7 separate regions of the Homo sapiens genome follow, and regions 1, 3, 4, 5, 6 and 7 are each linked to region 2. Evidence: promoter capture Hi-C in 16 types of primary human blood cells and fetal thymus (Javierre and others, 2016). All regions are on one chromosome and are shown on one strand. Each heading gives the region's core, a stretch centred on a gene start or on the middle of the fragment in contact. The rest is flanking DNA. Distances are from core to core; before and after follow the strand shown.

Region 1 (3,270 bases), core at 237-2,736, 3.5 Mb after region 2:
TGATCTTTTAGTGATATGAAGTTAAAACCAGGTACTGTGAGTGCTCATCTGATTTTTGGTTCTTATAACTGTGTTCTTTGTGTAGACAGTTGTTAAGTTTGGTGTTCCTAAGGGGTGGAGGGGGAATGATTGGTAGAGCCTTGTTTTTAGCCATTTGCTCCACCCTTTAAATACTCTTCTTAGGAAGCCAAATCTATGCAGAATGAATCTGTAAATTCAGTAATGATCCTCTTAACACTGACTGAGTTTAAAGAGGACAGTTCTTTTCTGAGGAGGGGAGTGGAATCTATTAGAGAGCATGGCTTGAGTTTTTGTCAACCTCATGGACTATTCTCACAATAAAAACTGTAAAAATAAATTAAAGGGAGAAGTTACAAAATTAAAATCATGTAAAAAGGATGAGTTCATGTCCTTTGCAGGGACATGGATGAAGCTGGAAACCATCATTCTCAGCAAACTAACACAAGAACAGAAAACCAAACACCGCATGTTCTCACTCATACGTGGGATTTGAACAACGAGAACACATGGTCATAGGGAGGAGAACATCACACACTGGGGCCTGTCAGGGGATGTGGAGCTAGGGGAGGGATAGCATTAGAAGAAGTACCTAATGTAGATGACGGGTTGATGGGTGCAGCAAACTACCATGGCACATGTATACCTATGTAACAAACCTGCATGTTCTGCACATGTATCCCAGAACTTAAAGTATAATAAAAACATTGATGTATGTTAGCAAATTCAACAATATATAAAAAAGATGAATACATCATTACCAAATGGAGATTATTTCAGAAACGCGCAGTTGATCTAACATTCATGTATCAATTGATGTATTAGTTTCCCAGGGCTGCCATAACAAAGTACCACCAACTGAATGGCTCAGAACAAGCAAAATTTACTGTCTCACAGTTCTGGAGGCCAGAAGTACAAAATCCAAATATCAACAGGGAAATCCTCCTCCTGAAGGTGCTAGGGAGGGATCTGTCCAGGTCTCTCTCTTAGCTTCTGGTAATTTCAGGTGTTCCTTGGCTTGTAGATGGCCATCTTTTCTGTGTCTCTTCATGTGGTATTCTTGCTGTGTGTGTATCTGTGCCCAAATTTTCCTTTTTATAAGCTTTTTCTTTTTTCTTTTGAGACGGAGTCTTGCCCTGTCACCAGGCTACAGTGCAGTGGCGTGACCTTGGCTCACTGCAACCTCCACCTCCTGGGTTCAAGCAATTTTCCTGCCTCAGCCTCCCAAGTAGCTGGGACTACAGGCGCATGCCACCACACCCAGCTAATTTTTTTTTGTATTTTTAGTAGAGACGGTGTTCCACCATGTTGGCCGGGATGGTCTCAATCTCTTGACCTCATGATCCGCCCGCCTCGGCCTCCCAAAGTGCTGGGATTACAGGCGTGAGCCACTGTGCCCAGCCATAAAATTTATCCTTTTTATAAGGACACAAGTCATATTGGATTACTGCCCATCCTAATTCCTAATATCTCAATTACCTCTATAAAGACCTTATTTCCAAACAAGTGACATTTAAAGGGACTGGGGATTATAACTTCAATATATCTTTTTTGGAGGGACACAATTCAATCTATATATAAAATATGAAACTAAAAGAAAAAAAAAGCAAAGTGATCATTTCCACACATGTAGAAAAGCCTTAATGAAATCCAACATTCATTCTTGATAAAAGTGCTCAAATCTTCCTACATCTTAATAAAGGGCATCTACAAAAAACCCTGGGCTAACATCCATATTTAAGAGTAAAAGACTGATAACTTTCCCTCTAAGATCAGAAGCAAAGAAAGGATGTCTGGTCTCATCACTTTTATCCAACACCGTACTCAAGCTTCTAGTCAGTGCAAAAAGACAAGAAAAAGAAATAAAAGGCCTCCAGAATAGAAAGGAAGTAAAACTGTCTTTATTCATAGATAACAAATCCTGAATATATAGAAAATCTAGCAAAATCCACAAGAAAAGCTGTTAGAACTCATAAGTGGTTTTTACAAAATTGCAAATACAAGATTAATGTTAAAAATTCAATTATACCAGCCTGGGCAACATAGTGAGACCCTATCTCTACAAAAAAATACCAAAATATTAGCCAGGTGTGGTGGCACAGACCTATAATTCCAATGTATTAGTCTGTTTTCACACTGCTATAAAAAACTACCTGAGACTGGGCAATTTATGACAAAAAGAGGTTTAATTGACTCACAGTTCTGCAGGCTTAATAGAAAGCATGACTAGGAGGCCTCGGGAAACTTATATTCATGGCAGATGGCAAAGGGGAAGCAAGCACGTCTTACCATAGCAGAGCGGGAGAGAGAGGGAGAATGAGTGAGGGGGAACTGCCAGAGAGAGAGAATGAGTGAGGGGGAAGTGCCAGACACTTTCAAAAAACCTGATCTCATGAGAACTCACTATCATGAGAAGAGCAAGGGGGAAGTTCGCCCCATGATTCAATCACCTCCCACCAGACTCCTGGGGATTACAATTTAAGGTGAGATTTGGGTGGGGACACACAGCCAAACCATATCACCCAGCTACTTAGGGGGCTGAGGTAGGAGGATTGCTTGAACCTGGCAGACAGAGGTTGCAGTGGGCCATGATCACACCACTGCACTCCAGCCTGAGCAACAGAGCAAGAACCTGTAACAACAACAACAAAACCCCCAATCATATTTTTACACACTATCTGACATAGTTTGAGTATTTCTCCCTTCCAAATCTCATCTTAAAATCTGATCCCAAGTGTGGGGCCTAGTTGGGGGTGTCTGGGTCACAGGGGCAGATCCTTCAGGAAAACTTAGTGCTGCCATTGCATAATGAGTTCTCATTCTGTTAGTTGCCTCCAGAGCTGATTGTTAAAAAGAGCCTGACCACTACCTCCCCTTTCTCTTGCTTCTCTTCTGGCCATGTGATCTGCACAGGCAGCCTCCCCTTCACTGAGTGGAAGCAGCCTGAAGCCCTCACCAGAAGCAGCCTGCAGAAGTGTGAGCCAAATAAACCTCTTTTATTTGTAAATTATTCAGTCTCAGGCATTCCTTTTTAGCAACACAGACTAAGACACTATCAAAGAACAACTGAAAATTTAAAATGTCATTTACATAATATCAAGAAGTATATTTTTCCCCCATCCTTAGATTTATGGATAAATCTGACATAGGGTGATATGGTTTGGCTGTGTCCCTGCCCAAACCTCATCTTGAACTGTAGTTACCATAATCCCCAGGTGTTGTGGGAGGGACCCGGTGGGAGGTAACTGAATC
Region 2 (3,666 bases), core at 480-2,979:
TGGGGAGAGAATCTCAGTCCAATCTCTAACACGAATACGTGTCTGAGTAACAGTCTGTACTGATCCTTCTTGTCAACTTTTAATCCTTCTAACTGATGAAAAGCATGAGACATGTGTTTATTTTAAGTACATGCTAGTGGCTGGCTTTCTTATTTTCACCTAGCTTTGTACAATTGTACAGAATTCATTAAATGCTTAATAGAAACACTCACGCCCCCCTACTCAACTCCAAGCAGGGAGTGGGGCTAAAAGGATAACTCAGTTGCTCATAAAGAACACACAAAAATTAAATCCTAGAAGGAAGTCGGAAAAAAGAACAAATAATAACACAAGGCAAACTATGGTATTACAGAAGTCAAAACTTCAGGGTCTTAATATGGTGCTCACTCCCTGTTAAGACAAAAGTAAATAAAACTAAGAGTTCCTATAATAGGAGAACAGGAAAGAAAGGAGGACGGGAGATAACATTTACTCAGCACTTAACAGGTGCCAGGCACTATGCAGGTAGTTTTCACTTATTCTTCTCAAGAACTACACATATGAAAATATGCCTCAATAGGTGATCATCTACAATAAGAGTTAACCACTTTCCTTCATAAAAATGATTCCAACAGCCTAGGAGTGTATTCTAATGCACATGCACTGTGGATGTAAATAATCATTCTGCCTAAAATCTTGTATTTGGGACTGATATAGGTCTTGGGTCACCTAGGCAACCCATCCATCTTATGAAAGATTTAACTTAGGCCAGACAAGATAAAGGGCTGGACTAAGGTCATGCTTGTTTAGAAGCAGAGTTGAGATCAAACCAATAATCAACACATCGATATGCCCCTCTGCTGGTAACTGTTCAGCGAAATTTAGTAACTACTAAGTTACCACCTATTAGTACTTTATTAAAACAATCCTAATAATCCCATTATACAAATAGCACAGAATCTCAAAAGAATAATTTGTTAATTTCTATATATTTTTAAAACCAACTGATAAGCAGTAACCTGCGTTTGAACGTATGTCTATTGCCCTGACTGCTCTCCACATAAAGATGCCAGATGCAAAGCAATGTTGGGGGAACTGGGGGTGATCGGTCGCTGAGGTAAAGATCGCCTCCTATAAAGCCCCACGTTGATGATCCTGGCCCTGGGCTCCCTGTCCCCTCCGCGATTTGTAACCCCTGAGCCGGGCGGGAGGACGGAGGATGAGTGTGCAGTAAAGAGGCTCCCGCGCCCTCGGCTCGCCGATTCCCCTCGCGACGCCGGGCCGGTTCCGAACGCGGACCGGACCGTTAAGGGGCTGCCTGGGCCGCTACGCCCCGCGCGGGCCGCCCCTCCCCCACCGCGGCCTGAGGAGAGCGGCGCTGCCGGCCGGGCCCCCGCGGCTCCCCGAGCGAACAATACAGGGGGTCCCCCGCGAGGCTGAACGCCAAGGCCCCGCACCGCGGGCCTCGCAGACAGCGTCGAGCCGCAAGGCCGCGAGAGACCACCCCGCAGGAGAGCGAGTGAGGAGGCGGTTATTCAGGGGGTTCAGAGGCCGCCGTGGCCTGACCGTACCTGGCTCCAGGTGATGAACTCGTTAGTGTGGGTTTCCTCCACAAGCGTCCACAGCTTGCTGAGGAAAGCCGGCACGTTCGAACTCTGCTTCATTGTTAACGCGGCGCAGGGATTCCAAATTCTACACCCGAACGCGGTGGTAGCGGCGGCGGCAGCTACGGCAGCAGCTCCCCGAGAACGCCCACAACGCAGGCGCAGCAGATCTTGGTCCCCGCCCCCCCAACCCCGCCAGGCGCGCGGCAAGGCCGAGAGGCCGGGCGGCCGCACGTGACGGACAAGTCTCCGCGCTCCGCCTGTGCGCGCAGTGGTTCCGCGCCTGTCCCGTCCCTGGCCAATCCCAGGAGCCGACTGCACGACAGAGAAAAGCGATTGGCTGCTGCTGACATGAAGGGGGTGGGAGCAGAAGGGGGTGGGAGCAGAAGGGGGCGCTGCCTCCTCATTTGCCTTTTATACAGAAGCCTTGATGGTAGCAGACTTAGGCTTGGGAGACCGTGTTTGGATGTTTCACGTGGAAACAGCTTATGGTTTCTGGGCTGTGGCTGGGAGGCTACAGAAACCCTTCAGGGCCTTTGAGTCATAAGTTTGGCAGGCAAAGTGTGGTTTGCACCAGTTTAGAGAAAGGATCCATTTGCATAAGGAAAAAACCAGCTCTCAAGCATGATGTGCTAGGCCCCAAATTGAAATTGTCTTAAAAATAATGAAACTTGTTCTTACATTTTCATTGGGAGAAAAAGCCCTCTTTAAAATATGTTTATCAAAAAGAGCAGTTTAAATAACTCACTCTCGATTACTTAAAACTGTAAACCAGGAACTGCAATTGATATATCATGTGCTGTTTTTAATCCAGTCATCAAGTGCCTACTCTGTACCCAGAATAAAAAGAAATAGACTCATTTGTACTATTTTAGTTAATTAAAATAGTTTTTCCTGCGTATACTTTACAGATATAGTCTTTTTTGCCTAAGAGATTGGTATAGTGGAAAAAACAATGGAAAAGGAGTCAGTAGATCTCAGTTTAGATAAAGCCTCTTGGACATTTTTCTGTATATTAAAATACACTGGTTCTGTCATTTAGAACAATTCCTTAGCCACCAGTGCCAGTTTTTTCCATTTCTTGACTGGGAATAAGATCTATCTTTTTACCCACTAAGAGTGTCTTTAATACTATAATGGCTGTGCAAATGCTTTGAAAATATGAAGTCTACAAAATTCGACTTTTTTTTTTTACAAAAGTCAGCATGTGAAGGCAAAAACTTACAAACAAGTCAGAGATAACATACAAAACTTCAACATAGGATTGGTTTACTTCTTGGGTGAATGTAAAATAGTACATTAAATATATATCTATCATTTAATGGAAGATATATGTATATCTCTTCCAATGAGCAAGTATTTAGTGAATGCTGCCTTTGTGCTCAGCACTGGGATGTTGGCTGAAGCAAAATCAGATATATGGAGGCATGCATGTGATAGAGGAAGTAATATTTGATGAGCCCTTATATATGCCAAGGGCTTTACATATATTATTGAATCCTCACAACAACCCAATGAACTAGGTTTTATTATCCCATTTTCCCAGAGAAGATTCTGAGACTCAAAAGTTGATTAATTTCTTCAGTCACAGCAAGTAAATGGGAGAGTATTTACACCCAAGCTTTATTGAGCTCAAAAGTATGTGCCCTTTCCATTGTACAATGATGACACTGTTTCAAAGCTCAAGATGCTTATATTCAAACTCAAGAAACAATATGACCACAGTGATCAGCACTCAATATATACAAAAAGAGCTAAATGTTTTGTATAAAATAAGTACTAGATAAGTTTAAAAAGACAGATTAGTAGGTTAAGGTGGTAAGGAAGGATTTCATGGCAGATAGGGACCTTAAGTTGGGTCTTGAGGTACAAATATATTTGAATAGCTAAAAGGAAGACAACAGAATGAGCAAAAACCAGGAAGCTAATGATCATGTCTGTCTATGGAGGGCAACAGCTCAGGAGGTAAGAATGGCAGTGTCTAAGGAGGAAATGTGGCCTACTTTCATGGCATTATATTATTTTCTTCTAAAAAAAGAAGGTGTGATTAGATAGAAGCAGAAACTTGTCTTTGGACATTCAA
Region 3 (3,272 bases), core at 212-2,711, 3.7 Mb after region 2:
TTCAGAACATTTTCATCATCCACAAAGGAAACCCCATAGTCATTAGCAATCACTCCCTATTGCCCCCTCCCTCAACCCCTGGCAATCACTAATCTACTGTTTCTATGAATTTGCCTATATATATAGACAATATATATAATATAAAGTGTATATATTTTATGTGGAATCATAAAATATGTGGTTTTTGTGTCGGGATTCTTTCACTTAGTATAATGTTTTCAAAGTTCATCCATGTTGTAGCATGTAACAGCACTCCATTTTTATTGCTGAATAATATGCCCTTGTATGTGAGTGCATGTGTGGGTGTGTGTGTAACACTTTGTTTATCCATTTATGAGTTGACAGACATTTGAGTTATTTCTATTTTTGGGCTATTATGAATAATGTTGGTATGAATGTTTGTATATAGGTTATTGTGTAAACATGTTATTTCTCTTGGGTAAATACCTGGGAGTAGAATTGCTAAGTCATATGGTAAGTCTGTGTTTAACTTTCTGAGGAACTGCCAAATTGTTTTTCCAAAGTAGCTGCATCATTTTACATTTCCACCAGCAGTGTATGAGGATTCCAATTTCTCCACATCCTCGTCAATGCCTTTTATGTCTTTTTTAAAAATGATAGCCTTTCTACAGGATGTGACATGGTGTCTCATTATGGTTATGATTTGCATTTCTCTAATAACTAATAATGTTGAGCATCATTTCACTTGCTTTATGGTCATGCGTATATCTTCTTTGGAGCAATGTCTATTCAGATAGCTTTAAAATCAGATTGTCTTTTTGTTGTTGAGTTGTAAAAGTCCTGGATACAAATCCCTTATCAGTTATTTGATTTGCAAATATTTTCTCTCATTCTGTTGGTTTTCTCTCTTTTTTTTTTTTTTGAGATGGAGTCTTACCCTGCCGCCCAGGCTGGAGTACAGTGGCGCAATCTCGGCTCACTACAATGTCCACCTCCTGGGTTCAAGCAATTCTCCTGCTTCAGCCTCCCAAGTAGCTGGGATTACAGGCACCTGTCACCATGCCCAGCTAATTTTTTTATTTTTAGTAGAGACAGTGTTTCACCATGTTGGCCAGGCTGGTCTCGAACTCCTGATCTTGTGATCCACCCGCCTTGGCCTCCCAAAGTGCTGGGATTACAGGCGTGAGCCACCATGCCCAGCCCACTGGTTTTCTCTTCACTTTCTTGAGGTTTTCTTTGAAGCACAAATATTCATAATTTTTATGAAGTACAATTTATTTAAGTACAATCTCTTTGTTTCTATTGTTATCCGTGTTTTTGGTGTCATATCTAAGAAACCACTGCCTTTTCCAAGGTCAAAAATATTTATGCCCCTGTTCTCTAGTAAGAATTTTATAGTTTTAGCTCTTACAATTAGGCCTATGATCAATTTAGTGTTAAATTTTGCATATGGTGTGCATATGGTGTAATGTTCTTTTGAATCTTGTTGGTAACTCAGCATCTTTCTAGATTTTTTAAGATTTAGAGATTTTTCTAAAGATTTTTGTTTTATTTTGTTTTGGTTTTATTATTAACTCTTTCACGAGTGGGGTCATTTAAGTTTATTCCTCTGGTTAATTTCCTTTTTTACATTACAACTAAGTCTTTTAATCTAGAAGATGGTTCATTGGTTTGTTTATTCTGATGATTGTGTTTATGTCCATGGGTGGAGTTCACAGTTAATTTCAGAATTGTTTGGGGGTCCTGTTGAAATATTAGATACAGTCAATGGGAGAAAGGAAATTTCAAGATTTACCAGAGTTACTTTAATAAATCGGCATTCCAAGTGTCTGTGGGAGTAGGGCAGAGGTGGTAGGGCCCACAGACCTCACCATTGTGCCAAAGAATTTCTCACTGGTTTCTGAGATACTACTCAGTACGCTGTCTATATGAAGGGCAAGCTGGGATGCCATGAGATATTGCCTTGTGTAGACTCTATCTTTACTGGACTTTCTACAGTTGCTGGTGGGACTGGTATTTGCCCCTCTCTGACTTCCCTATATGGCACATTTGCCTGTAAACATAGAACACTTTACTGGAAATCTTCTAAATTTCACAGCAAGTGCCAATTCATATTTTCATATCCCTTTGGATATTCAATGGTAGTTAAAACATGTAAACTCAGATGAATATCTTGAATCAGAACCATTCTTTCAGCTTCTGATTTGGCTCTGTTTCTATTGATTATTCTTTGCTTTTATCTAGTGACCCTGACTAGTTCAAGTTTCTATTTTCCTCATCTTTAACTCTTATTTTGTGTTTATGCTGGTGTTTCCTATACTTGTCCTGCCCCCAACCTTGGCAACTAATCTCTTGATGTATTAGAGCACTGCACTAGAACCAGGAGGCCAGATCATGCTTCTGTTGCAGGTTGCTAGTCCTTCCACATTGCCTCCCTCATCTTTCTTCATCATTCTTGCAGTGAACCTCAATTACACCCAAGGAAACCAAGTTGTCTTTGTAATGTAGACACATGGGAGCTCCTCCTCCTCCTCCCTCCTCCTCTTCTTTCTCTTCTTCTTCGTTGTCATTGTCTTCTCTTTTCTTCTTCTTCTTCCTCCTCCTCTTCCTCCTCCTCCTCTTCCTCCTCCTTCTCCTTCCTCCTCCTTCCTCCTCCTTCTTCTTTCTTCTTTCTTCTTCTGAGACAGGATCTCACTTTGTTGCCCAGGTTGGAGTGCAGAGACACGATCTCAGCTCACTGCAACCTCTGCTTCCCAGGCTCAAGTGATTCTCCTGTCTCAGCTTCCTGAGTAGCTGAGATTACAGGTGTGTGCCACCATGCCCAGCTAAGTTTTGCATTTTTTGTAGAAATGAAGTCTCACCATGTTGCCCAGGCTGGTCTCGAACTGCTGGGCTCAGTGATCCACCTGTCTCAGCCTCCCAGAGTGCTGGGATTACAGATGTGAGCCACAATGGCTGGCCATGGGGCATCTTAAAGATTCAAGTATCTTATTTATTAATATCTTTATATCGTCCATAACAGCTAGCACCATCTGAGTACATAGTCAATATTCAACAAATATTAAAAAAAATTAACTTTAATAATTAAAAGAATAATATAATATATCAAGCCTGGCGCAGTGGCTCACGCCTGCAATCCCAGCATTTTGGGAGGCCAAGGTGGGCAGATCACTTGAGGCCAGGAGTTCGAGACTTGCCTGGCCAACGTGGCAAAACCCCATCTCTACTAAAAAATATGAAAATTAGCTAGGCCTGGTGGCATGCACCTGTAATCACAGCTACTCAGGAGGCTGAGGCAGGAGAATCGCTTG
Region 4 (3,615 bases), core at 159-2,658, 3.5 Mb after region 2:
TGAGATAACCGTATTCATAGGAAAAACAAACATAAAACTTTCATAATTTTGGGAAGAGTTACACACAAAAATATCATCATTGAATAATTAGTACAACAAAAATGCATTTGTTTGTCCTAAAGGTTGAAATGAACAGAATCATGATGGGAATAATCAATATGGGAAATGCTATAAAGAAAGCCATAAACAAAGGCCTGTCTTACAAGAAGTACTTTCTCTGGGCGTGGTGGCTCACACCTGTAATCCCAGCACTTTGGGAGGTCAAGGTAGGCAGATCACTTGAGGTCAGGAGTTGGAGACTACCCTGGCCAACATGGTGAAACTCCACCTCTACTAAAAATACAAAAATTATCTGGGCGTGTTGGTATACACCTGTAGTCCCAGCTACTTGGGAGGCTGAGACAGGAGAATCGCTTGAACCTAGGAGGCAGAGGTTGCAGTGAGCCGAGATCATGCCACTGCGCTCCAGCCTGAGCAACAGAGCAGGAAACCATCTCAGAAAAAAAAGAGGTACTTTCATTTTTCTAAACCAGAAATGCTCAAGGTGTCTGCCTACATTAATTACTAATGACTCATCTGAAGGTAGGGTTTGAAGTCATCCATGGTAATGGAACAATAATTAGTTTGCCCAGTTGGCATAAGGACCTCATATTTATTTTATCTCAAAGCCATTTTAATAGTATACTATGAAATTGCAATAGCAACTGCTTTAAAAATTGCATAGTAAAAGTAGTTAAAAAGGAATAGTAAGAACATTACCTTAGAAAAGTCTGGTTTTACTGGTGGATTTTCCCTTAATTCTGTCTCAGTATATTCATTATTTACATAATAGCCAACTCTAATAAATTCTTGTCCTCGATAGGTACAAGTAATTAGCACAACAGTTACGCCTACTGCATCTGCATCTGGAATGAGTCCTGGATTAGGTGCATCAGCCTAGAATAAATTAAAAAGAAAAGAAACACACACACACAAAAGGCTGTTAGTGGCAGGCAAGACTGGAGTTTCAGTTACCTAGAACCATCAGTTGAGGATGCAACAAGAAAAACTTGGAAATCATACTGGGAAGGAAAATGCTCATTTCTGACTGACTTATAATAAGCTGGAAAAGACAGTTCATGTTTTGCCACAATATATGTAAGGACCCTTGATACTTGAAAGCATGACTACACTTGTAAAAGGAAGAAATTCTGGCTACACTGCATGGTGGTTCATGAAAGGATTATACACTATTCATTATAAAACCTTTATAGTCAGCAATTGATTTTAACCTTTTCAGTCATAATTTTCAGACCTAAATTAGTAAGTATTAAATGATCTCCTCATAGACTGTTGGCCACAAATGTTTATTATACCAGTTTCCCTCTTCAACCCAGGATACTTATATTCTCATACCCACTCAACCACCCCCACAGGTATTCTAATAGTAAATTAGTATAAAACTGAAAATGAGGTTGGGTGTGGTTGCTTACACTTGTAATCCCAGCACTTTGGGAGGCCAAGGTGGGTGGATCATGAGGTCAAGAGATTGAGACCATCCTGGCCAACATGATGAAACCCCATCTCTATTAAAAACACAAAAATTAGCTGGGCATGGTGGCGGGTGCCTGTAGTCCCAGCTACTTGGGAGGCTGAGGCAGGAGAATCACTTGAACCGAGGAGGTGGAAGTTGCAGTGAGCTGAGATCGCACTACTGCACTCCAGCCTGGCGACAGAGTGAGACTCCGTCTCAAACAAAACAAAACAAAACTGAAAATGAGATGGAAATAGCTACATAGCAGATTTTCAAAAAATATTAATAATCCTCTATTATGAATAGTTACTTTGCTAGACTCTACAATATAGTATGCTCTTTAAACCACACATAATGTGGAAACCAGTGAAGGTAAGGATTGCTTTAGGCAGATGTCAAAGACCTTGTTTTAAATCAAGCTATTGTAAGGTGAACCTTGAGGAATGCAGAAAGTAAACTGAGTTAGACTAGACTAAGAGCATGAGCGAAGGGCAGGGCCCCATCCGTGGTAGGGTGCAGGTAGTAATGAGACGACCGGATGGAAGGAGCCAGACTGGGGAACACAGGCAGTGATGGCTGAGGCATCTGAGGCAGCCATTCTGGGTGGTAAATGGATCAAGTCCCAGCAAATTAGCTTACCTGTTGCCAGGGCACCAAGGAATATTCCTGGGCCTAGATGAGCACTTTAGCCAATGCCTTAGCTTGTGAAAATTGAAGACTGTTGTTTACTGTATGCCTAACACAGGTAGATGATACAAAAAGGCATAAAATCGCTACCTAGTGTCCTAGGCTAAAAACCTCAGTCAGCTTCACTCCCTTATCTCCTACATCTAGTCAGTCTCAACATTTTTTTCATTTCTGGAGGCTGAATTCATGTCATCTCCTATCTGGAATATTGCTTAGAATTTTCTAACTGATCTCCCCAGCTCTAGCCTATCATTTGCACTGCTACCAGCATTAACACAGATATGTTCTTTCTCTTTGGTTTTAAAACCTCAGATTATTAAAACCCTCAGAAGAGTATTCCCTTTTCTAAGGGATAAAATCTCAGTTCTTTAACTTCATTGACAAGGCCCTTCTCAGTTTGTCTCCAGCCAATATCTCCATTCATACCTCCTTTAACTCCACCATTGTTCTAGAGATATGAATCACACAGGTTCTTTAAAACGTGGTGATAATCTTTTCACGCTCTGAGCACGGTGGCTCACGCCTGTAATCCTAGCACTTTGGGAGGCTAAGGTGGGTGGATCACTTGAGCCCAGGAATTTGAGATTATCCTGGGCCACATGGCGAAACCCCATCTCTACAAAAACAAATTTAAAAAAGAAATACTTCACCCCCTGTGCTTCTAACATACTGTTCCCTTGGCCTGAAAGGTCCTTCGCTCACATCCTGAAAAATTCATCTTTTAATCTTTTTTGGAGCTTACATCGAGTGTATTCTCAGTGACGCCCTTTCTAACTCAGAAGGTAGAATCAATAGATTCCTTTTTTATGTGCTGATATTTCTTGTCACAAATTATCTAAGAACGTATGCCCTGTGATCTAAACATGTTTATTTTTCAGTCTTCTCTTCTAGATGCTATGCTTTATCCAGGGCAGGAGTCCCATCCAGTTCATCTTTATAATCTCGTGTGGCTCAGCTCTGAGCACTTAGTATTTTGGAATTCATTTGTAAATCAGTTCCTGCCCTGAAGGGGTTTATGATCTCTTGGCAAGACACCAGGATAGGGGACAGCCAGCCTTGTCCTGGAGAATATGCTGTTTGTCTTAGAGATTCTACACACCCCTGCACAGAGGGGTTAGATTACTTTCAGTGTACCCAAACGGATTCTAATATACCTGAAGTGGGTGGAGATGGGAAATATATAATAGTTCAGTACTGCTATGAGAACTCTTCCCCTTCCCTTCAGTAAATTGGTTCCCTTCAGTAAATTGGTTCTAGGCATGTTTCTGTTTTAAAATCTGTTGTAAATATAAAACATCTTTTAAAAAGCATTTTACAATTTGAAAAAGATTCAGTTTGAGCAAATTTAAGTAGAGAAGCTTACAGGCCTTTCAAATAATTTAGGATGCAGAAGTAATGAGCAGAGATCTTTGTTT
Region 5 (3,637 bases), core at 234-2,733, 4.7 Mb after region 2:
GATACACTGGGCAGACTTTTAAAATGTTACTGTGAGAAACCTGTACCCAAAAACCATTTCAAAAGCAACCTAGCTTCGATTTAAATAAACTAAGGAAATAGCACTAGAAAGAGCAGCACACAAAAAAAATTTGTTGTCTTACTGTTGAATTCTCACACAGAAGGCAATGCCTTATTCTGGATCATTCCAATTTACAGCAAATAATCCTAAGGCTTACCCCAAATTATCCTCAATCATGAAAAGGAACATGAAATATAAATAATCTAATGTAAGGCAAGTAGCAGAGTATCCTTTGATCTGTGTTAGGGTTAAACTTCAGTGTGCAGAAGTATCATACAGGTAGCTTGATAAAAACAGAGACGCCCAGGTCCCAGTTCCCTCATTAAGTTTGATTACTAAGTGTGTTGAATCTGCATTTTTTATAAGCATCCCCAATGACTAATTCACAGATGGTCCACAGACAGGTTTTGAAAAATACCAATCAACAGCAAGGTTCCCAGCAAGGCACAATAAAGCCAGGAAATAAGAACAAGTTCCATCACTTAAGATAACAATACATATCCAGATAACTTGGAGCCAAGTGTACCTGCATGTGAGACACAGGCAAACAACACTGCTAAGGCTAGAACAATAAAATCCATTTACCCCAACCCCTGGTTCTTGTACCATCCCAGTTATGGTCATTTCTTAAATTATAATCATATAGACAGAACAGCCAAATCTCGCTAGAATTCTGAACTCAAAAAATTCCTGATCACTGTCCTGAGAGAACAACCTGAATTTTTGAAAGATGAAAGAATTACTTGCAGACTCTATTATAATCAAGAAATATTGCAGGTAGTGAAAAACAAAAAGATCAGTTTGCTGGCAGTCAAATTAAGGTCAATATAATAGATCTTTTAGTCTAAGGATTAAATGTTGTTATCTAGATCCAACCATAATTAGAACGAATTTAAGTACAAATTTGAGAGCAAAGGGGTGTAGGACAGAATAAAATGTAAGGTGGTAAGCTTGTCTTCAAAGTGGCTGCCCGTCCATCTCCCTTCAAATCCTCACCCAACCTTTCTACACAAGCCATTTTCTCATTGAGAGGTGAAGTCCATTTCTCCACTTTCTTGATGCAGAACAGATGTGAGACTTCTCTGACCAAGAGAACATAGCAAAAATAACACTGCATGATTTCCTAGGTTAGGTCCTAAGACATCTTTCAGCTTCAGCCTTTGGCCAAGTCTCTGGAAACATTTGTTCTGGGGGAAGTTAGTTAACTGGTTACCCTGAAGTCAACCTCCAGACCATGTGAAGCCAGATGACCAACCTGCCCCATCTATTTCAGCCATCAAAAACCAGGCACCAGACATAAGGAGAAACCTTTGGGTCCCAGACTCTATCTGAATGAAAGCTATGAGTGACCCAAAGGAAAAACTGCCCAACTGAACTAAGTCAATATATAAATTGTTGTTTTAAAACACTATGCTTTGGGTAGATTTCTACAAAGCAGTAGGTAACCAGAATAGCTGTCCAAGCCTTCATCCTACCTCATTTCCCAACTGTTCATTACATAAATTCACTGCTCCCAACACTCTACTCAATGCTATTACTGAACCTAGTCTAATGAGAATGCTGCCATTAGGGAAATCCCCATTCACACACACAGAGAACACTGTTCACGCCAATCCCAATTCTATCTTTTTGACTAGGTCCAGCTCAGGTGTTGCTCCCTTCCTTACCAGACAAATATGGAGGTAACCCGGGAAATTTTCCATTTTTCGCTCCTTAAAGTATCTGCCATTCACTTAGCATTTCTATATTAGCTTGTGTTAATTTTTAATGGACATCCTTACTTGAGTGGAAACTCTTTAAGAGACACCATTTCTTGTACTTCTTGTATCCCAGTGGCATTTACGAGTATGTCAATAGGATTTTTCATAGTTAAATATCTATCTAGAAATAAGCTTAAATAGACATTTATTTAGAAACACTGAATATGGCCGGGCGCAGTGGCTCACACCTGTAATCCCAGCACTTTGGGAGGCTGAGGCAGGCAGATCACCTGAGGTCAGGAGTTTGAGACCAGCCTGGCCAATATGGCAAAACCCTGTCTCTACTGAAAATACAAAAATTAGCAGGGCGGGGTGGCGCGCATCACCTGTAGTCCCAGCTACTTGGGGAGGCTGAGACAGGAGAACTTGAATCTGGGAGACGGAGGTTGCAGTGAGCCTAGATTACACCACTGCACTCCAGCCTGGGTGACAGAGCGAGACTCCGTCTCAAAAAAAAAAAAAAAAAAAAACCACTGAAAAAGAAACACTAAATAAAGCTTACATGTCTATACTCCCTCTGAGTGATTCTTACATATCCACATGGCCTATATTTTCAAGTCTATATTCAAAGAGCCTCTCCTTGGCCTCCCTATTTAAAACTGTACCCCTTCCTACACCACTGACTTTCAACATTCCTATCTTCCCTTCTCTGCTTTACTTTTCCTCATTGCACTTACATTACCACATATTTACCCACGTATATTATTTGTCAGACTCCCACTGAAATCTAAGTTCCATGAGTACACTGCTGCATTCCCATGTCTGGAAGAGTATCTGGTACTTAACAGACCCCAACTGTCACCTGTAAATGAATGTATGAACGAATCAAAACCAAGAATGGACTAATTGAAGGTCTCTTATTTCAGGAATATTTCTTATTCTTTTAAAAAAAACAAACAAAAAAACTGATTTTACAGTTAAGATACAAAATCCTGTAAGCCCTTTCACTGAAAATGCTCCTTAAGGTGCCTTTCAGTTCTCAGCCAAAACTTGGCTTAGCTTACTTCTTCCTTTTAATTACTAATCATTTTTCTTTTAGCAACTATGACACAGGATACTTCTGAATCACATCAGCAATTTAAACACAGGACTTGCAGAAACAAGGAAATGTGGCAACATTATAGTCTGTACTAGTAGGCACGGTCATCAAGTCAAACAATTTAGCTATACATTTTCCTTCCCTACTGGAAGATAAAGATACTTGCTTTAAAAGAATCACCTGGCTGTACATCAATCCACCACGTTGCTTAATGCCTTTATGTCCACTTTTGCTTCACCTATTTTTTTCCCCAAGCAAAACTGGTTGCATTGGTTTAGGCATGGATTGTGTCATCTCCTAACAGTCTCATGATTTCTATTGGTCTGCTGAGTTCTTTAGCAAGTTCCATAAATGTCAGTCTCTGAATATATCAAACTTTACCCTATAGGGCAAATCATCATTTGGTGATGACAGGCTACTGCGTCATCATGTTCCTTGCGGGCTGCAGGAAAGATGATAGGGCAATCAGAGATCAGCCTGTAAGCGTTACTGTCTGGCCTATGCCTTCCCTTTCTGACAAAACCCTGCACTTAAATTTACCAATCTGACAAAGATGTATGCCTCTCTAGAGCACACAGGTAATTTATTGAACAGAGAATAAAACTTTTGTTTTCTTCCCTTCATACCAATACTCTTAAATCATTCTTCTCACATCTTTAAAGAAATTCCAATGCTTTCAAGATCTGATTGAAAATCAAACCTGACATCCCAAACCTGAGTATTCCTCAACTTATCTCCTACCTATTCTTCAAGGTCCTGCTTAAATCCCACCTCCACT
Region 6 (3,622 bases), core at 521-3,020, 3.5 Mb after region 2:
CCATGCTGGAGTGCAGCGGCGCAATCTCAGCTCACTGTAAGCTCCGCCTCCCGGGTTCACCCCGTTCTCCTGCCTCAGCCTCCTGAGTAGCTGGGACTACAGGCGCCCACCACCACGCCTGGCTAATTTTTTGTATTTTTAGTAGAGATGGGGTTTCACCATGTTAGCCAGGATGGTCTCGATCTCCTGACCTTGTAATCCACCCACCTCGACCTCCTAAAGTGCTGGGATTACAGGTGTGAGCCACTGCGCCCAGCTGGCTATTGTTTTAATCTTAGGGTTCTTTGTTGATCTGCCTAGTTTTATTATCCTTATGAGTTGATGATTTTATCCTTTTAAAATGCCCATTTTAATTGCTAATAATTTTTTAAATTTAAAAATCTTTTGTCTGGTATTAGTATAAATACTCCGGCTTTCTCATTGATATTTACATACGTATGTTTTTCCATCCTTTTACTTTCAACCCATTTCTTTCTTTGAATCTAAAATACCTCTTGTAGATAGCATATAGTTGGTTTTTCTTTTTTGTATCCATGCTGTCAATATATGCCTTTTGATTGGATTATTCAGTCCATTCACATTTAATGTTACTGATACGGTTGCATTCCTATCTGCCATTTTATATTTTGTCTTCTATATGTCTCAAGTTGTTTTGTTTTTTTTTAAATTCCTTTTTTACTGCTTTCCTTTGTATCAAATGAATATTTTCTAGTATAGCATTTTTTATTTCTTTAATGATTTTTCTCTATTTTTGTTATGATTTCCTTAGTGGTTGTTATAGGGCTTACTTAATGTATCAGTGTTTCAGATGTAGACTTATTTTATTTCACTGAGATACAGAAATGTTGTCAATTCTATACCATTTTCCCCTTTTTATGCTGTAATTGTTACACATATTTCATCTGTATATGTTACAAACACAAAAATACATTGGTATAATTATTGTTTTATGTAATTTTATACCTTTTGAAGAAGCTCAGAAAAGAAGGAAGAGCAAGAGTTTGTTATATTAACTTTCTTAATTACTATTTCTGGCTCTCTTCATTTGTTCTTGTAGATTTGAGTTACCATCTGGAGTCATTTCCTTAATCCAATATAGCTTTCTTTCCACCTGCATTCTTTTGCTGTTACTGCCAAATATATTGCATTTCTATATGTTATAGGCCCAACAATACAATTATATACTTTTTTATACAATTGCTTTTAAAATCAGTTTAGAAAAGATATGTGTCTCTAAACTGTTTTTTCTAGTTACATAATTACCTTTGCCAGTGCTCATTCTTTTTTCAATTTGAGTTATCACCCAGAGAGATTTGCTTTTGGCTTAAAGAACCTCCTTTAGTAATTCTTTTAAGGCATGTCTGCTAGCTACTGATGCTCCCAGTTTTTGTTTATCTGGGAATGTCTTTATTTTTCCATAATTTTTGAAAGATAGTTTTGCTGGATATCAGACTCCGGGTTCGATTTTTTTTTTTCTTTCAGCACTTTGAATATGTAATCCCACTGCCTCTGGCCTCCACTGTTTCTGATTAGAAGTCAGCTCTTAATTTTATTGTGGCTCCCTTTTAAATGAAGAGTTGTTCTCTTATTGATTTAAAATTTTCTCTTTATCTTCAGTTTTCAGCATTTCTGCTATGATTTATGGGTGTGGATTTTTTAAAACATATATCCTACTTGGATTTTGTTGAGCTTCTTGAATGTATAGTCCATTGTTTTTCATCAAATTTGGAGAGTTTTCAGTCATTTTTTTCTAACTTTTTTTCTACTCCTTTTAGTTCCCCTCCTTCTGGTACTCCCAATATATATATATTATTCTGATTAAAGGTGTACAACATTTCTTTGACACTCTGCTCATTTTTTATCTTGCCCTTTACCTCTGTTCTTTGGATTGCATAATTTCAACTGATCTCTCTTAAAGTTTGCTGACTTTTTCTTCTGCAATTTCAGGTTTACTCTTGAGCTATCTAGTGAATTTTTTGTTTCAGTTATTGTACATTTCAAATCCAGAATTCTTACTTGGTTTTTAAAAATCCTTTTTATCTCTTATTGATATTCTCTATTTGTTGAGACATTGTCATCATCCCTTTTTTTTTTTTTTTTTTTGCATCTTTGAGCACATGTAAAATGGCTACTTTGAAGGCTTTGCCCACTACATTTGAAATCTGGATCCTCTCACAGGCAGCTTCTGTTGTCTGCTTTTTCTCCCTGTGTGTGGGCCACATTTTCCTGTTTTTTTGCACATCTTATACTTCTTTGTTAAAAACCGGATATTTTAATTTAATGTATTATACCAGTTCTTTATATTAATTCTCCTCCAGGCCTCGTTTTTTATCCTTTTTTTTATTGTTGTTTGCTTGTTTAGTAACTTGGCTAGGTTCATTTCTTGAAGTCTGTGTCTCCTCACAGTGTGAAGTCGCTGATGTTACTCCTCAGAGGCAACAGCCTTTACGTGTGTGTACAGTCACTCTTAGGATGATAATTTTAACCAACCTTTCCTTGACTCTCTCCTTGATCTCTGTTAAGCTATCTGTGCTGTTTGGTATCATACTCGGCTGGTAGGCTCTAGTTGTTGATTGCTCTGTTCTTTTTGGCAATGCCCTGGGGATAAGTTGCTCAGCACTCTGGTTCAATTAAATTTGGTCAGGGATACTTTTTGAATCCAGTACTTGAGGTTTGTTCTGACCCCAGAAGTGCTCTTGTTGGCTGTTTCCCTGGTTCTCTATGGTAAACTAGCTGGCCTATGGTTTAGCATACAGCTGTAATAGAGCTACCAGCCTTTTTATTACTTGCTACCAAAATCTCCATTAGGCTTGAATTTCCCTGCACTGTGTTCCAAATAAAGTCAGTTTCTTGTGGGGGAAGATTCAGATTTTCCTTTCCCTGTTTTTGTGGACTCTCTCTCCCCCTGGTCAAACTCTCTGAGCTACTGCTCCAGCCAGGGGGCGGAAATGGTAGCCTCTGCCCTTATTGGCTTTGTCTTTCCAGGTGGAACCTTTACCTTATGAGTCAGCTGGATTGAAGGCATTTGGGGTGCCGAGGATTCTTTGCCTGTCACACCTAGGGTAGATCCTCTACTCTGTGCGTTGGGATTGGGTGGAGGAAGGAAGATCGTGACCTTTTGGCCACAGTCACCAGGAATTTAGCTTCTGTACCTCACACGTGGAGGGGATAAGAAATGCTTTCTACCCCTCCTGGTACGATATCTTATCCCTTGATTAAGAGCTCATAGGGAGCTCCTCTTCTTGACCACATTCACCTGTAGTGAAGCCTCCATCCAGCTAAGCAAGAAGAGAAGGGGAGAGGCAGGAAGCAGGTCATGATTTAAGTGTCTTAGACTCTCACTATTCTTATGAAGTTTTAGATTTCAATGAATAAATGTTTCTTCATTTACTGTATGCCCTTAGATTTTCCATAGTCTGTATAAATGGTTGGATTTTAAAAAATAATTTTCACCAGTTATACTTGCTTCAGTGAGGAGGATGTCCATGGAGCTCCTCACACTGCCATTGCAGAAGTGAAACCTCTGAAGTGATGTTTTTAACGCTGTTTTCACTGTTCAGTTTTTCTAAGTGCAGTCATTATTCCTGGTTTGCTAGTAATTTCTGGTGCCATTTTTCCTCCC
Region 7 (3,450 bases), core at 889-3,388, 4.8 Mb after region 2:
TTATATTGGAGGAATTTGTTGGGAGAATAATCATGTAAATGAGAAATTGCAACTTTGATGAATACTATGAAAGGTACATAAGAGTAAATGAGACCCTATTTTGGGATGTCAGAGAAGGCTTCCCTGAGGAAGTTATTGAGCTAAGACATAAAGGAATTATGTGTAAATAGGAATGAATTAAGCTAAGAGAAATAGGAATGCCATTCAACATTGCCGTAGAGGGAATGGGAAGTGAAAAGCACCTGTGGTGGGCAAGCGCATAGTGCATTTGAAGATTCGAGAGATAGTTGGTATGTGTAACAAGAGAAGAGGGCAAAAGAAGCAAGGCACAAGATAAGTTTGAACAGACAGAGAGGGACTATTTCTACATGACTTTATGGCCATGCAAAAATATTTGGGGCTTTATCATAATCGTGGGAAGTCTTTTAAACCAGTTCGTAGCCTCAGATATGAAGTTAGAATAGTTCACTCTGACTATGGTATGGAGAAAATTGCAGAGAATGACATGAATGAATGCAGAAAATTGTTTAGAAGGTTTCTGTTTATGTGAGATTATGATAGTGTGGAGTAAGATAATAGAGGTAGGAGAAGGTATTCAGAACAAGAGAAACTGGAGAGGTAAAAATAAAAAAAACCTAGAGATGGATTGGAACAGAGGGATGAGGGAGTTCAGGATAAATCCAAGTGACAATCTTGTGCAGCTGGTTGCCTGAATAGATAGATGAATGTGTTATATTATTAGCAATAACAATATTGCCAACTTTATTGATCAGTTACCATGGGCCAACCTCTCTTCTGAGTCTTTTACATAGACTGATTCATCCAATTCTCACAACAGTCCTGGAAACAGGTTTATTAGTATAGTTACTCCAACTTTACAGGGATTAAGTAAGAGGCCTGAGGCTACGGAGCTAGAGAAATCAGTCTCTGCACAAACACATTATGTCTGATGGGGGATGGAGGAGGTGGAGAGAGAAGCAGACAGAAAGAGTGAGTGTGGCTGAATAGATAGCAAGAAGTGAGATTGTAGGGTACAAGGGAGGTTTTGTTTTCATTTTGTTTTTAAATAAAAACAAATAAAACATAAGTCTGTGAGAAGCATCTACTTGAGAGAAAAGCCAAATATAGAAAAAGAGTGGGGTAGTTAATATTAGTAAGATTTTGTAATAACAGCTACTTAGAAGAGGGAGAGAATGGGAGCAGACAGTAGGAGGTTGTGGAAGTTTCTGTCTGATGGCTTTTTTTTTTCTGTAAAATAGGAGCCCACGTCAGTTGCTAAAAGTAGGTGAGAGTAAGAGCATGAGGCTAGTAGAAGAGGTTTGAGATAGTAATGGAAGAGTGGGAGAGCCAATTGGCCAGAGAAACAGGACTGCCAGGCATTGTTGAGGAATGGCTTGGGGTTAGTTATCATAAATTATGGTGCAACCGGTCTGTACTGTTGTGTGATTTTCTCTAGCAATGCATATCTGTTTAGGTACAGGCACAGTAATGAGAGTAATAACTAGGTTTATTCAATGTTATAGCAAAGGAGTTTGTTATACAGACAAGTGTGTTATTGAAGTGAAAGTGGTAATGGGGCTGATGAAAAGGAGATAAATTGAAGACTAAGGAAGGAGAATTGACAGGATTTGATAATTATGTAGATGCAGGAGATAAGAGAAAGGGTTAAGGATAACACTGCATTTCTGTTTGGGAAATGATTGATCAGTATCTGTAGTGGGTTGAATCGTATCCCTCCAAAATTCATATCCACCCCCAAAACCTCAGAATGTGACCTTATTTAGAAAGAGGGTCTTTGCAGGTGTAATTATGTAAAGATGGAGGTAAGATTATAGTGGATTAGAGGGGGCCCTAAATCCAATGAAAGTGTGCTGATAGGAGACAGAAAAGGCCACACACAGACACAGAGAAGAAGGCTATGTGATGATAGAAGCAGAGATTGGAGTGATGTATCTACAAGCCAAGGGATGCCAGTGATTGCCAACAGCACCAAAAGCTGGGAGAGAGGCACAGGATCTCCAGAAAGAGCCAGCCCTGTCATACCTTATTTCAAACTTGGGGCATCCTGAAATGTGAAAGAATAAACTTATGTTGTTGTTTTAAGCCACCACGTTTGTGGTAATTTTTTTTTTTTGACAGAGTCTCACTCTGTTGCCCATGCTGGAGTGCAGTGGCACAATCTCGGCTCACTGCAACCTCTGCCTCCTGGGTTCAAGCAATTCTCCTGCCTCAGCCTCCTGAGCAGCTGGGATTGCAGGCGCCAGCCACCATGCCCGGCTAATTTTTATATTTTTAGTAGAGACAAGGTTTCACCATGTTGGCCAGGTTCGTCTCGAACTCCTGACTTCAAGTGATCCTCCCGCCTTGGCCTCCCAAAGTGCTGGGATTACAGGCGTGAGCCACCGTGCCCAGCCTTGTGCTAATTTTTTGTAACAGCCCTAGGAAGTTTATACATTACTATTTACTGAAGTAAGGAATACAGGAAAAGGAGGAGCAGGTCTGGGAAAGATAATGAGATAAGATTAGGATATTTTGCATAATTAAGGTCCTTATTCTTCTCGGGTGTTCCTAACATAGTCTCCTAATCATTATTCCTTCCAAACCATCCTTTGGTTGCCTGATCATTCTAGAGTGATTCATACTAGTGGTTTGTATTTAAAAAGACAAACCTAATTCTGTCATTCTTCTTTCTGTATCTCTCTAAAATTCAAATTCTTTGGCCCGGTGATCAGTGTGCCTGTCTGTCTCTCCTTATCTCTTATCACCCCTTCTTAGCTGCTTTTGCCTCAATAAAACTGATCTATTTGCAGTTCTGTAAATAGGCCTTGCTCTTTTATGGCACCTGTACTTTCACATAGGCTTTGGTGTATAATGCCTTCTCTATACCCTTTGTCTACAGTATCAAACACACACTCATCTTTCAAGACTCCACTTACGTCATTGTCTCAGAGAGGGCTTTCCTTACTCCACTCCTCTCTGCTCTTTATAGGCAGAGGCTGCCCTAAGCCCTTGAACTTATTTGTACTTTTAGATTTGTTACATTGTACTATAATTAGCGTTTACCACATCTTTCTACCTCTAGAATGTAAGCTGTTTGAAGGTCAGAACCATGTTTTAGGGGAAATAGTTTGAACCATCAAATGCTTTGTGAAGCTGATTTAGAAGGCAGCATTATCTTTTTGTGAACTTATTTTGGTTTCTAGGAGCTTTTTGTTTGTTTTTTGTATTCTTTGCTTCCATGCTCCCAAACCACATTGCTGAGTACTTCCTTTGGTATAGATATCAGATTGGTTTATATAAGGATTACAGAATTGGTATTTGGCCCCTTTTTAAAATTGGACATTTGGGGCCGGGTGTGGTGGTTCACGCCTGTAATCCCAGCACTTTGGGAGACTGAGGTGGGCAGATCACCTGAGGTCAGGAGTTTGAGATCAGCCTGGCTAACATGGG

Evidence for each region. The method cuts DNA at HindIII sites, captures the fragments that hold promoters and counts their contacts. A CHiCAGO score of 5 or more calls a contact.
Region 1: a contact is called between a fragment that was not itself captured here and the fragment with the promoter of HSF2 in region 2, in 5 of 17 cell types (naive B cells, naive CD8 T cells, activated CD4 T cells and 2 more). The highest score is 8.1, in naive B cells.
Region 3: a fragment that was not itself captured here is called in contact with the fragment with the promoter of HSF2 in region 2 in 1 of 17 cell types (total B cells); the score reaches 5.7 in total B cells.
Region 4: a fragment that was not itself captured here is called in contact with the fragment with the promoter of HSF2 in region 2 in 2 of 17 cell types (naive B cells and activated CD4 T cells); the score reaches 5.5 in naive B cells.
Region 5: a contact is called between a fragment that was not itself captured here and the fragment with the promoter of HSF2 in region 2, in 6 of 17 cell types (non-activated CD4 T cells, total B cells, fetal thymus and 3 more). The highest score is 13.4, in non-activated CD4 T cells.
Region 6: a fragment that was not itself captured here is called in contact with the fragment with the promoter of HSF2 in region 2 in 1 of 17 cell types (non-activated CD4 T cells); the score reaches 5.4 in non-activated CD4 T cells.
Region 7: a contact is called between a fragment that was not itself captured here and the fragment with the promoter of HSF2 in region 2, in 1 of 17 cell types (non-activated CD4 T cells). The highest score is 5.9, in non-activated CD4 T cells.

Annotation. Positions count from the first base shown.
Region 1 is chr6:118,936,220-118,939,489 of GRCh38, reverse strand. The region is part of intron 1 of LOC124901389 (a long non-coding RNA gene); the gene reads right to left. Among named protein-coding and RNA genes, the nearest start is that of MCM9, 2.7 kb to the right of the region's middle. The HindIII fragment of the contact is 727 bases long and covers 1,123-1,849 here.
Region 2 is chr6:122,397,715-122,401,380 of GRCh38, reverse strand. HSF2 (heat shock transcription factor 2) reads right to left here and starts at 1,729. Exons shown (of 13, transcript NM_004506.4): 1 at 1,551-1,729. The coding sequence starts at 1,643. RefSeq lists silencers at 1,284-1,403, 1,674-1,993 and an enhancer at 934-1,433. The HindIII fragment of the contact is 3,471 bases long and covers 1-3,206 here.
Region 3 is chr6:118,672,135-118,675,406 of GRCh38, reverse strand. The region is part of intron 1 of LOC124901388 (a long non-coding RNA gene); the gene reads right to left. It also overlaps a transcript of CEP85L not described here. Among named protein-coding and RNA genes, the nearest start is that of CEP85L, 22 kb to the right of the region's middle. The HindIII fragment of the contact is 6,498 bases long and covers 1-3,272 here.
Region 4 is chr6:118,902,973-118,906,587 of GRCh38, reverse strand. All of the region lies in intron 8 of MCM9 (minichromosome maintenance 9 homologous recombination repair factor), which reads left to right. ASF1A (anti-silencing function 1A histone chaperone) reads right to left here. Exons shown (of 4, transcript NM_014034.3): 3 at 760-936. Among named protein-coding and RNA genes, the nearest start is that of ASF1A, 11 kb to the right of the region's middle. The HindIII fragment of the contact is 4,304 bases long and covers 1-3,560 here.
Region 5 is chr6:117,677,331-117,680,967 of GRCh38, reverse strand. The region is part of intron 1 of NUS1 (NUS1 dehydrodolichyl diphosphate synthase subunit); the gene reads right to left. Among named protein-coding and RNA genes, the nearest start is that of NUS1, 3.7 kb to the right of the region's middle. The HindIII fragment of the contact is 942 bases long and covers 1,013-1,954 here.
Region 6 is chr6:118,881,551-118,885,172 of GRCh38, reverse strand. All of the region lies in intron 8 of MCM9 (minichromosome maintenance 9 homologous recombination repair factor), which reads left to right. Among named protein-coding and RNA genes, the nearest start is that of ASF1A, 11 kb to the left of the region's middle. The HindIII fragment of the contact is 3,745 bases long and covers 1-3,622 here.
Region 7 is chr6:117,591,049-117,594,498 of GRCh38, reverse strand. All of the region lies in intron 1 of GOPC (golgi associated PDZ and coiled-coil motif containing), which reads left to right. Among named protein-coding and RNA genes, the nearest start is that of GOPC, 9.7 kb to the left of the region's middle. The HindIII fragment of the contact is 4,523 bases long and covers 1-3,450 here.